Regions from separate parts of the Homo sapiens genome. Here region 2 is linked to region 1. Evidence: promoter capture Hi-C in human tissues and cell types (Jung and others, 2019). All regions are on one chromosome and are shown on one strand. The core of a region is centred on a gene start or on the middle of the fragment in contact, and the rest is flanking DNA. Distances in the headings are between cores, read along the strand shown.

The links. Contacts are between HindIII fragments. The study calls those that stand out against the background at their distance.
Region 2: a contact is called between a fragment that was not itself captured here and the fragment with the promoter of FAM20A in region 1, in 2 of the 25 tissues and cell types used here (neural progenitor cells and thymus).

What each region holds. Positions count from the first base shown.
Region 1 is chr17:68,598,873-68,604,179 of GRCh38, forward strand. FAM20A (FAM20A golgi associated secretory pathway pseudokinase) reads right to left here and starts at 2,495. Exons shown (of 11, transcript NM_017565.4): 1 at 1,391-2,495. The coding sequence starts at 1,794. The HindIII fragment of the contact is 4,098 bases long and covers 1-3,015 here.
Region 2 is chr17:68,642,609-68,647,915 of GRCh38, forward strand. LINC01482 (long intergenic non-protein coding RNA 1482) reads left to right here. Exons shown (of 5, transcript NR_110825.1): 2 at 62-157. Among named protein-coding and RNA genes, the nearest start is that of LINC01482, 17 kb to the left of the region's middle. The HindIII fragment of the contact is 6,803 bases long and covers 1-5,307 here.

The DNA of each region.
Region 1 (5,307 bases), core at 1,245-3,744:
AGGGCAAAATTTCCTGGTTCACTAAGCCAGACTTCCATGTTATTGACGAAATAAAGATAATATTGAAAATGACAGTGTCTGAGAAGCAATCTCAAACTGCCTTTTATTACTGCACACAGTTAACGTGGAATTGAGAATCACTTTCTTTCTAACATAAAATGTGAGCCGTAGAGTTACTACTGAAATTCACCACAGTGATTCAGCCAACAACTCAACTTATTCCTTTGCAAAAATTTCTGAAGGTTTTTTTTTCTCCCTTCAATCTCAGCATTACAAAATAATGAGCAAACAGTTAAATTGGCCCAGCTCTGAGTTTCAAGAGAGATTTATGGTCTGCTCATCCTCTGGAGGGACCATAAAACCACCGATGACATCTTACTTTGAAATCTCTTGTATTAAGTAAAGAGATGGGTGTGGTGCGATAGTGAACTCTGCATGTGAGTGGTATTTAGACAAGTTCTGTACTTCAAAACAGAGTCCTTAACTCATACGAAGGCTTCCTGCCACTAGCAAGGGATCTCAGTAATGAGCGTGCTGCCTTCCCTAACACCCCCATCCTTTTCCAGAAAGATTCTTAATTTTATCCTAAATATATTTGATATTTTTTCCTCTGTATTTTGCTTTGGGTTTAAAAAATTCCCTGAAAGATTTTTTTCTCGTCTGTGGAAGCATCAAGCCGCAGATCCAAGTCAGTCCAAATCACCAGGATCATACAAGACGATAAAAGTGCCTTCAAGTTCTAATACTTGCTGGATGGGCCCAAGCCGCGTTTTAAATGTGAACAATGGGGTGGCTGCGGCAGAGAACTGACCATTTACTTCCTGCCTCAGATGACCCCCTTGTGATCTCTGAAACTGGGCAGAGGAATAAGGAAAGGGAAAGAACTGGGTTTTGGGGAGAAACATGCTTTCTGGAAGGCGCCCAGGTTTACCCAAAGAGCACAGTTAAGTGCTGAATTTCAACTAGCTCTGGAGTCACCCTGTTTGGGGCCTCATTCTGGAAACCCGAAGTCCAGCGGCAGCTTTCCTCCACATCAGGACAGAGAGTGGGGTTTGGGAGCGGACGAGGGAGCGGGAGTGGACGAGGGAGCAGGAGTGGGGCTCAACGACGACCCAGGCGCTCAAGGGGAAGGGGCTGAGAGCGTTTCTTCGCTGTGCGGCTGCAATAGAAACTTTTTCCTCGTACTATCTGACTCCGGGACTGGACTGTGAGGTCTGCAACAGCTGGTGGGGTTCGGGTGGGGAACACACTCTAAGCCCAGCGCCAGGGCTGGAGCCGTGGGTGGAGCCGCTGCAGCCCTGGGCCGGGGGCGTCAGGAAACTCGAGACTGGGGCGCGGGGAGGCCCCGGCCAGAGCGCCCGCTCTCCCGCGTCCCGGGCGGGGTCCTCACCTGTTCCAGCGGGCCACCTTCCTCCGGTAATACCGCAGCGCCTCCTGGCTGGCCAGGAGCGAGTCCTCGGCTCCCAGGAGAGGCGGCTCCTCCGGGACGTTGTACAGCGGGTGGGCGAAGAGGGCCTGCAACTTGGAGCTCGACCCGCTGTGGCTGCCGCCAGCCGGTTCAGTCCGGGGCTCGGTTCGGGAAAAGTTGTGCACGATCGTGCCGGGGTCCGAGGCAGCTGCGGCCGAGTCCCGCGCCAGGGAGGAGGCGCGGCCGGTGCACGGGCACCCCCGCGGGCGCTCCCGAGGCCGCAGCTGGCGCTGTACTTGGGGCCAGAGGTGGAAGTAGAGGTCGGCGGAGAGCAGCGCGCCCAGCAGCAGCAGAGTCAGTAGGCGGTCCCGGCGCAGCCCCGGCATGGCGTGCTGGCCAAGGGGGACGCCGGGGGCAGGCCGGCTGTCTCCGGGGTCCCGGGAGGGGTCGCGGGGTGCGGGCAGAAGAGGTGCCTGGAGTCCCGCGGGTGGGCCGGGGTCAGTGAGACCGGAATGCTCCCCGCGCGGGCTAGTCCCCTGTGGAGGGGTGTCGCTCCTCAACTTGGGGACCAGGTGCACGGAGCACCGGGGCTCTCGGAGTCAGCGGGCGTCGCTTCTCCGCGCCGAGTGAGCCGAGGGAATGGGGTTCCCGGGGTGCCCGCTTCTTGCGCCTTTTCTCCCGTGCGCCCGCCCGCCCGGACGCTCGCGGCAGGTGAAGGGCCCCGGGGCGCCGGCGCCGGCTGCCACCGCGGGCGGACGGGCGACGGGGCGGGGGGCGACCGCGGAGGGCGGACGGAGGCCGCCGGCTGCAAAGCCCGGGGCGTCTCTCCTGAGGATGCTGTCGCTCGGCGGCGGCTGCTAGTGCTCCCGCGACTCCTCCTGCGGGCGGCGGAGACGCCAGTGCCGGCGGCTGGCACGGGCGGCGCGAGTGGGGAGTTGGCGAAGCAGGAGCGGCTCCGGGGAGCTTGTCTGTGCGCCTGGACTCCTAGAGGCAGAGGTAGCGCGGGGCCTCCCCGAGCCTGGCCTGGCGCCGGCACCCCCACCCACTCTCCGCTGGCACCTGCCTCTGGCGCAGCTGACGGCCAACTCCCGATCCGAAGCCGGCGCTGCCCTTGCACCTTGTCACCCACCCACTGCCTGCGCCCTCCCCCTCGCTCGGGCCTCCCACTTTCCCTGCCCAGGTCTCAATCCAGTCACTTTAAGGGACTCACGCGAGGGGTCCGAAGCCTCTTTTTACCATTTCTATTATTTTTAGGGAAAAAAAAACCACCACAAGCCCCCTAAAACCCTTTTTTTCCTGTAAGCTTTGCCAAATGAGTGTGTGGGGGGGGGTGGGGGGAGGCGGGGGTGGCAGTGTTGGTATCTGTTCTTTCTTTGTGTTCCCTTCCACCTCCGCCCCCCTGCAGAGCGCAGGGCACATCAAGATTCATAACAACTACCTACCACATGCCTGGCACATAGTAGGTGCTCAGGAAACACGCTCTTGGTGAAGGAAAGAGCTTGACCTTTAAAAGTAAGGTATCAGTTTTACCTAGAATCTTGCTGATTTCCTGTTTGGAAGGAGTTTGATTCCAACTCTGCCTGTACTTTAAAAAGAGGAAATGTTTCTTGCACTCAGGGAGGGAGGGGCCCTGATGACCCCACTCCGAACTTTTGAGTTTAGCTTGGTGTGAAAGTAGTCCACCCAAATGAATCACTGGAGGACACATTTAGGCTTTCTCCAATATTCTGTGAGGTAATGTACCCTCCCCACACCCAGTTTTCCTTTTGAAGAAGAGGGAGGGAGTCCTGAACTCCTGGCTCCTCTATTTAATGACCCCATAGTATAGTAAAGTGAAGTCTGATTGGAGAGGCGGCCCCACCCTGCTGAATTTCAGGAAATCCACCAGAAGCTGCTTGCCCAGGCAGCAAAGCTTCCCATGTAAGTTAGTTCTACTCTTTAACCCCCTCCCTTCCCTTGCTGGAATTGAGAACCCTCAGACATACTTTGACTTGTGGGTTCAGACCAGAGTTCTTTTCCCCGTGGTTCAGTGTAAGATTTCTTCGGGACTTTGCAGTCTCCTCAAATGTAAATGAAGATAATGATGGAACCTACCTCCTAAGGTTATTATGAGACTTAAATGAATTGAAGTACAATTATGTGTCACGTCTGAGAAATGCATCCTTAGGCAATTTTCCTGTGTGTGTGAACATCAGGGTGTACTTACACAAACCTAGATGGTTCAGCCTACTACACACGGAGGCTACATGGCATAGCCTGTTGATCCTAGGTACAAACCTGTACAGCATGCGACTACTGAATGCTGTAGGGAGTTGTAACACAGTGGTGAGTACTTGTGTGTCTAAACATAGGAAACATACAGTAAAAATACAGTATTGTAATCTTATGGGACCACTGTTGCATTGACTAAAATGTTATGTGGCACTTGACTATGTATAAATTACTTAGAAGAGCTCCTAACTCATCCTAAATAAGTGTGAAATATGTGTTTGCTATCATTATGATTACTTATTAGTTCCTGTAGTACACTAGGCTTGGTTAGAGACTGCTCATCGCTAGGACAAAAATAGAAAAGGATGGAAAAGGAAGATAGCAGGAAGGAACCTGCTTTCAGGGGCATAACATTGTGGCCTGAGTGCCCAGTCCAAGTGAAAAAGCCCAAGACGGTACTATTCCCAGCTACTCCACTCCTCTGGGTATGATGGTGGGCATTTTGAGGGGTTCTAGAACCTCCTCCTTTTTATCTGGAATTAAATTTTAACTGATTTCCAATTTCTGAGAGACGTTGCAACTTCTAATGTGTTTAATTAGATGTCATGGCAAGCGAATGAAGAAGTCAGGCATTGAATGGTGGTGATGTAACTGCAGTAACTGTGTGGCAAACTGATGCGCATTTTTCTCGGCTGGCAAAGGACGTGGATGTGGTGACACTGCAGGTCTTGTGACTTCAATTCTCCTCAACCCATGGGGTCATACTCGCTTAGTAGACTCTTTTTTTTCTGGCCCCAATTTAGGGAACAATAGTGTAACTTGCTTGGAAATTATGTAAACATATTTTCCATGCCCTTTAAAGGTCACAGTCAAGTGCAGAACTGCATGTGGGAGTTAGATATTAAGTGTGAATGAAGCTGGATAGGAGAGTGGAAATCCTACCAGTAGGATTGGCCAATAGGATGTTGGCTTCCTCAGGTTTGCCTCTAATCTACCTTTACCCCTCCTAGAAATGAGCCTTCTCCTGCTCCTCCGATCTTCCATGTCTTGGGCCCTGGCTTACTTGCCAGCCTCACATACATCCTCTCCGTTCACACTGAAGGTATCCTAAATTGCTGTTTGCTGGGACCCATCATTCTGTTTAAAATCTTTCATTGGAAGCCCCTCCCTCCTTTTCCATCTCTACTGATCTTGATGTATCTAGAGCCTCATAATCTCTTGCTCATACTTGCAAATAGGCTTCTAACTGGTCCCTCTGCTTCCATGGTACCTTAGTTCAGTGCCCACACACACTCTTGCCAGAGTGAGACTTCTAGTATGCAGAGGCAACCAGGATATTCTCCTCCTGAAAACCCCCTGAGCTTCTCCTTGTTGCTGGATTAGGTCACTCATTGTGACACAGCTCTTCGTGGTCTGGCTTCTACCTCCTTTCTTCTTTATATGCCCCCTCTTTCGTCTTCACCCCACAAGACTTTCTGCAATTCCCAAGTGCTCCAACCTTGTAGGGGTGGGTTGCCCCTCCACACCTGTGGGTGTTTCTCATAAGGTGGAACGAGAGACTTAGGAAAGAAAAAGACACAGAGACAAAGTATAGAGAAAGAAATAAGGGGACCCGGGGAACCAGCATTCAGCATATGGAGGATCCCCCCAGCCTCTGAGTTCCCTTAGTATTTATTGATCATTTGTGG
Region 2 (5,307 bases), core at 1,546-4,045, 44 kb after region 1:
GTTATATGGGCATTGGGTAAGATATCTGCCGCCTGATTTGATCCTTCCTCATTGGCCCAAGCATGTCACCACGGAGACTTCCTTGTTCGTGTCTATATGGTTCATACATGGCCTTCCCCTTAATTAAAGATGTCTTCCGAGGAACATTTTGTCTAAGGTAAGAATCCTTTCCAGACTCCTAACATCATAGGCTTTTAAAACATTGGAGCCAGGAAAAATATTGTTTGTTTCTCTGCTTCCTTCTTTAAGCTCAACCTTATGCCCTAACCAATAAACATAAATTAGCTTTGCTGTTAAAAATGGAGAAAAGGCCAAAAAAGAGATACCATAGATACATATTTAAAAAATATCACTTTGCTACAAAATCTAATGTCCCAGATGAATTGCCATGCAATTTGTGCAGATCTATGTACGTTTCTATTCTTTTTCCATGCTGCACCTGTTTAAATGATAGATCATTCTCCTAAATGCTCTTCCTTGTACTTGTCCTTCTCTGCTATGGTTCACTCAGCCTCTGGCAAAGAAGTATGGAACTGGGAGAGGTGGAAGATTCGGAGCTAGAGGAGAAGGAAGGAGGATAATGAAGCACACCTGAGAACTTTGCTGCATCGTGGTTTTGAAAGTGTGGCTTTTACTGTTGCCCATCATATGCAACTGAGTTCAGAGGGCACATAAAGTTGGATACAAACCACTTTGGTGAACCAGACATTTGGCGATTAGATCCAGCGCAGATGCATCTATATGCAAGTTTTTAGTGAGATGAGACATAGTAATGGTGATTAACTCGATTGTTGATATAATACTGGTGGTAAGCTCATTTTAATGTGTAGTTTATTGGAGTTGTTAAGGACATTATTTTCAGAGTAAGAAAGCCACATTTGATTCCTGGCTTTGGCACTTCCACATAGTTGACTTGGGCAAGCTACTAAACCTTCCCAATTATTGCAATGGGAATAACAGTGGTGTCTATATGGTAGGATTGCTGTAAGATTTGAATAAGGTGATGTAATGCACACTAAGAGCTAAGTATAATGAGTGCCTGGCTCATGGCAAGCAGAATGAATGTTAACTTATAATAACAATCATATAAAAAGAGTCAATTTTCTGAAAATTTCCTCATTTTAGTTATCTTTAAGTAGGTCTTTTCTTTGTCCTTATTTCTGAGCATGGAAAAAACCCCAGAGGCAAAGACCATTAGTCAACTGATCTTAAGGACCAGCAGACAAAGCTTCTGATGTAAATTTGCCATCATTCCCTTCACCTCAGAAGTTATGTCTCTAACATATCTTATGTTGAGTGTGCTGACTTAGCAAACCTGATGCCCTAGTTTTAATACACAAGACTTGCAGCATGACCACCAGGAAAATGTTTCCAAATGCTTGTTGTGGAAAGAGTAGTTAGTCTGCACCTGTCAACATCGCAACTGGATTCGTCTCAAAATGCAAGACACATGGTTCGGAAGCTGGCAAAGGAAAGGATATTTTCACCCTAAAAACACAGCTCATTTCCATTAATTGAGTCTGAATAGTCACAAGTTGCAAAGCTCCAGACAGGTTTTCACAAGCCCAAGAGCAGGGACTGACAATATTTACAGCGCTCTAAGCTGAATCGTATTACTAGGAAGTTCATAAACATGGAGGATGCCTGCTCTGCTGTCACTTGTGTGATATCTGGGCTTCTGCTATGATTTTCTGGGCTCCTTTAATCCAGGACCTATGGTTGGGAATGACAAACATCTACCAGTTTCTGAGTTCCAACTCATGTTGGTTGCTATTATGCCACCCAGGTCACTCTCTTGGGAGGTCTCCATGGAGCTCCTCTTTCCATCTCTAGACACTCTCTCAATCCTTGCATGTTTCTCTCATCCTTTCTCTCAGCTTTGCTTTTTTCCCATCTAGTTTCCTCTTCAACAAAACAAAATAAACATCACAGAAATGAACCGATGTCATCCAGTTTGGCAGAAGTTTTGTCTTTATGGGGTATTATAATATTTACCTCTTTCCAAACTTCTTGATATTGAAGTTTCCTCTGACTTCTGTAGGTTCCTCTCTTAGGACTCTATAGAGTCGGGAATTTTAGTCGTTCTTCCACTTACGTCACCAGAGGATGAACATATCTGTTTTTATATGTTGCACAAGGATAGCATAAGAGACAAATGAAGTGTTGTTTCACTTCATGAACAACAAAAGAAAGATAAATAAAGTAGGAACTTTTGTTTTTAGGCAATGATGTGAATGAATTTAAATTCATATTGATTATATAAGCAATAATAATAACACATCGTGGGATTTAAAATATATTTAGATTTAAAATGTAGGCTAATTTAAACATAAATAAGAATGGGGCTGAATGGAGTTAAAGGGTTCCAAGGTCTTTGTCTGGAGAGTAGGTAAAGACACCAATTAATGTTCTGCTTTGATAAGCCAAGGATGCATGTTATAATTTCCAGGTAGCACTAAAAGAATGGTTAATGCACGTACAACTTTCATGCTAATAGAGAAAAGATGTAATAATAAAGAAATCAATTCGAAACAAGATGAGAAAAGACAAAAAAGGAACAAAGAACAGATGGAACAAATAGAAAACACATGATAGATGGTATTTTATCTGCTTGATGACATACTTACTACTGAATTATGTCCCCTTCTCTTCCCCAAATTCATATATTGAAATTCTAACCTCCAATACCTAAGAATGTGACCGTTATTTGGAAATAGTGCCTTTATAGAAGTAATCAAGGTTAAATGTGATCATTAAGGTAAATGTGATCCAAAATGACTGGTCTCTCTATAAGAAGAGAATATTAGGATACAGAGACACAGAGCAGAGATCATGTGCAGACAGAGGGAAAAGATAGCCATTTACAAGTCAGGGAGAGATGCCTCAGAAGAAGCCAGCCCAGCTGATGCCTTGATTTGGACTTCTAGCCTCCAGAACTATGAGAAAACAAGTATGTATTGTTTAAGCTGTCAGGTCTGTGGTATTTTGTTGTGGCAGCCCTAGCAAACTAATACAGCTTCCTAGACATATCAGTATTTATGTCAAATGCAAATGGACTATATGGTCAAATTAAAAGGCTCAAATTGCAATGAAAGAAGACCCTTGTTGGTTACAAGAGACATATCAAGAACACAAGAATGTGGAAAGATTAGAATAAAAAGGTGAAAAAAAAAGATAACACTATGAAAACTCTAACCAAAAGAAATTTGATGTAGCTATGTTAAGATTAAAAATGCTGTTTTTAATGCAAAAAGACTGGTAGAGATAAAGAGGAATTTCATAATGCCAGAAGGATCAATTTACCAAGAAGGTATAAAAATTCTCAATTTGTATAGATCCAGTAATATGGAATCAAAAAGGCAGAAATGAATAGAGTCACAGTCATACTGACAGATTTTTATCACACTTGTCAGTGGCTGATAAAATAAGTAGATATAAAACAGCAATAATACACAAAACTTGAATAATGCAATCAACAAATTTTACCTAAGGACATGTAGAGAATATTGCAGCCAACAACTGGAGAATACTTACTAATTTCAAGCACAATAAAAATTGGCTATATGCTGAAACGTAAAGGAAGTCTCACCAGATTTCATGATGCAAATTATATAGTGTTTGATTTCTAAACACATTTAATAAAGTTGAAAATCAGTAACAACAAATGGTCCTGGAGTAACTAGGCATCTATATGCAAAAAGTGAACTTCAACCTGTACGTTGTACATAAGAATGAACTCAAAATAGATTTTAGATCTAAATGAAAAAGCTAACATTATAAAAAAATTAGAAAAAAAAACAGAGGAGAAAAGTCTTCATGTCTTCATGGCCTTTGGAGAAGAAAAGATTTCTTACACAGATCACAAAAAGGCACTAATCATAAAAATTAGTCATAATAATTGGACTTCATTGAATTTAAAACTTTGCTTTTCGAAAGACACTGTTAAGAATCAAAGAAGCAAGCCACAGACTCAGATGAAATATTTGCAATACTCATATATGACAAATGATTTGTGTCCAGAATGTATAAGTAACTCTTGCAGCTGAATGGTAAGAGGATAACAAAAACTCAATAAAAAATGAGCAAAAGATTTGAATGCATACTTCACAAAAGATATCTTAATGGCCAAGAAGCACATGGAATGATGCCGAACATTATTAGTCATAAGATAAATACAAATTACAACCACTAAGATGGTCAAAATGTAAAAGGTTAGCAGTAGCCTGTGTTAGTGAAGATGCAGAAAAACTATAACCAGGCTGAGAGTGCTGGCTCACACCTGTAATCCCAGCACTTTGGGAGGCTGAGGTGTATGGATCACCTGAGGTCAGCAGTTGGAGACCAGCCTGTGTATGGATCACCTGAGGTCAGCAGTTGGAGACCAGCCTGACCAACATGGTGAAACCCTGTCTCTACTAAGTACAAAAAACTGGCCCAGCATGGTGGCACATGCCTGTAATCCCAGGTACTTGAGGCTGTGGCAGTGCTCATCACACAGTTTCCCACACGGGGCACCAACTGTGGCAGTGCACCTCTTATGGGGGCGCCAGCTGCGGGGAGGGGTCTGTCCGTTGCAGACCCCTGACCCGGTGACGGATGAATAACGTACACTGACACACAGATATTCTGCTTTGCCTGTCCAGCTGAGTGTGTCTCAGCCGCTTACAGACTCCCTGCTGAGTCCTGTAAACAGTCGTGACTTGGCCCTGATCAGCTAGCGAGACTCACATTTATTTGGTAAGATTAATTAATAAAGGCTTGAGCTAACACCATTAAAGGGTAATTGACATTGTGGACTTCCTGAGTAAAAAGCACTTAAGTACCTGTGGTACAATAAAGGTTAGTCTTAAGATCATATGAGTAAACAAGCTAGCTAGGTAAACTACTCTGCCTTCCTTTGTTACTACTTTAATTTTGTTTAACTAAAGATAAAGGGACCAGGCCACCTTCAGCCAGATCTATTATAGAAGTTATGCAAACTTCTCGGCCTTCCAAGAAGATTTGTGTCTATCTCTACACTATCTCTAATATTTTTCCCACCAGCCTGATTGAACCCCAACCAGAGGCTGAGGCAGGAGAATCACTTGAACCCAAGAGGCAGAGGTTGCAGTGAGCCGAGATTGCACCATTGCACTCCAGCCTGGGCAACAAGAGCAAAACTCCATCTCAAAAAAAAAAAGAAAAGAAAAACTAGAACCTCATTTATTACTACTGAGAACTGTAGAACTGCAAAGTGGTTCTAAAGTTGTAGAACCACTTTAGAAAAAATTGGGCGATTTCTTGTAAAGTTAACACATTCACTGTATG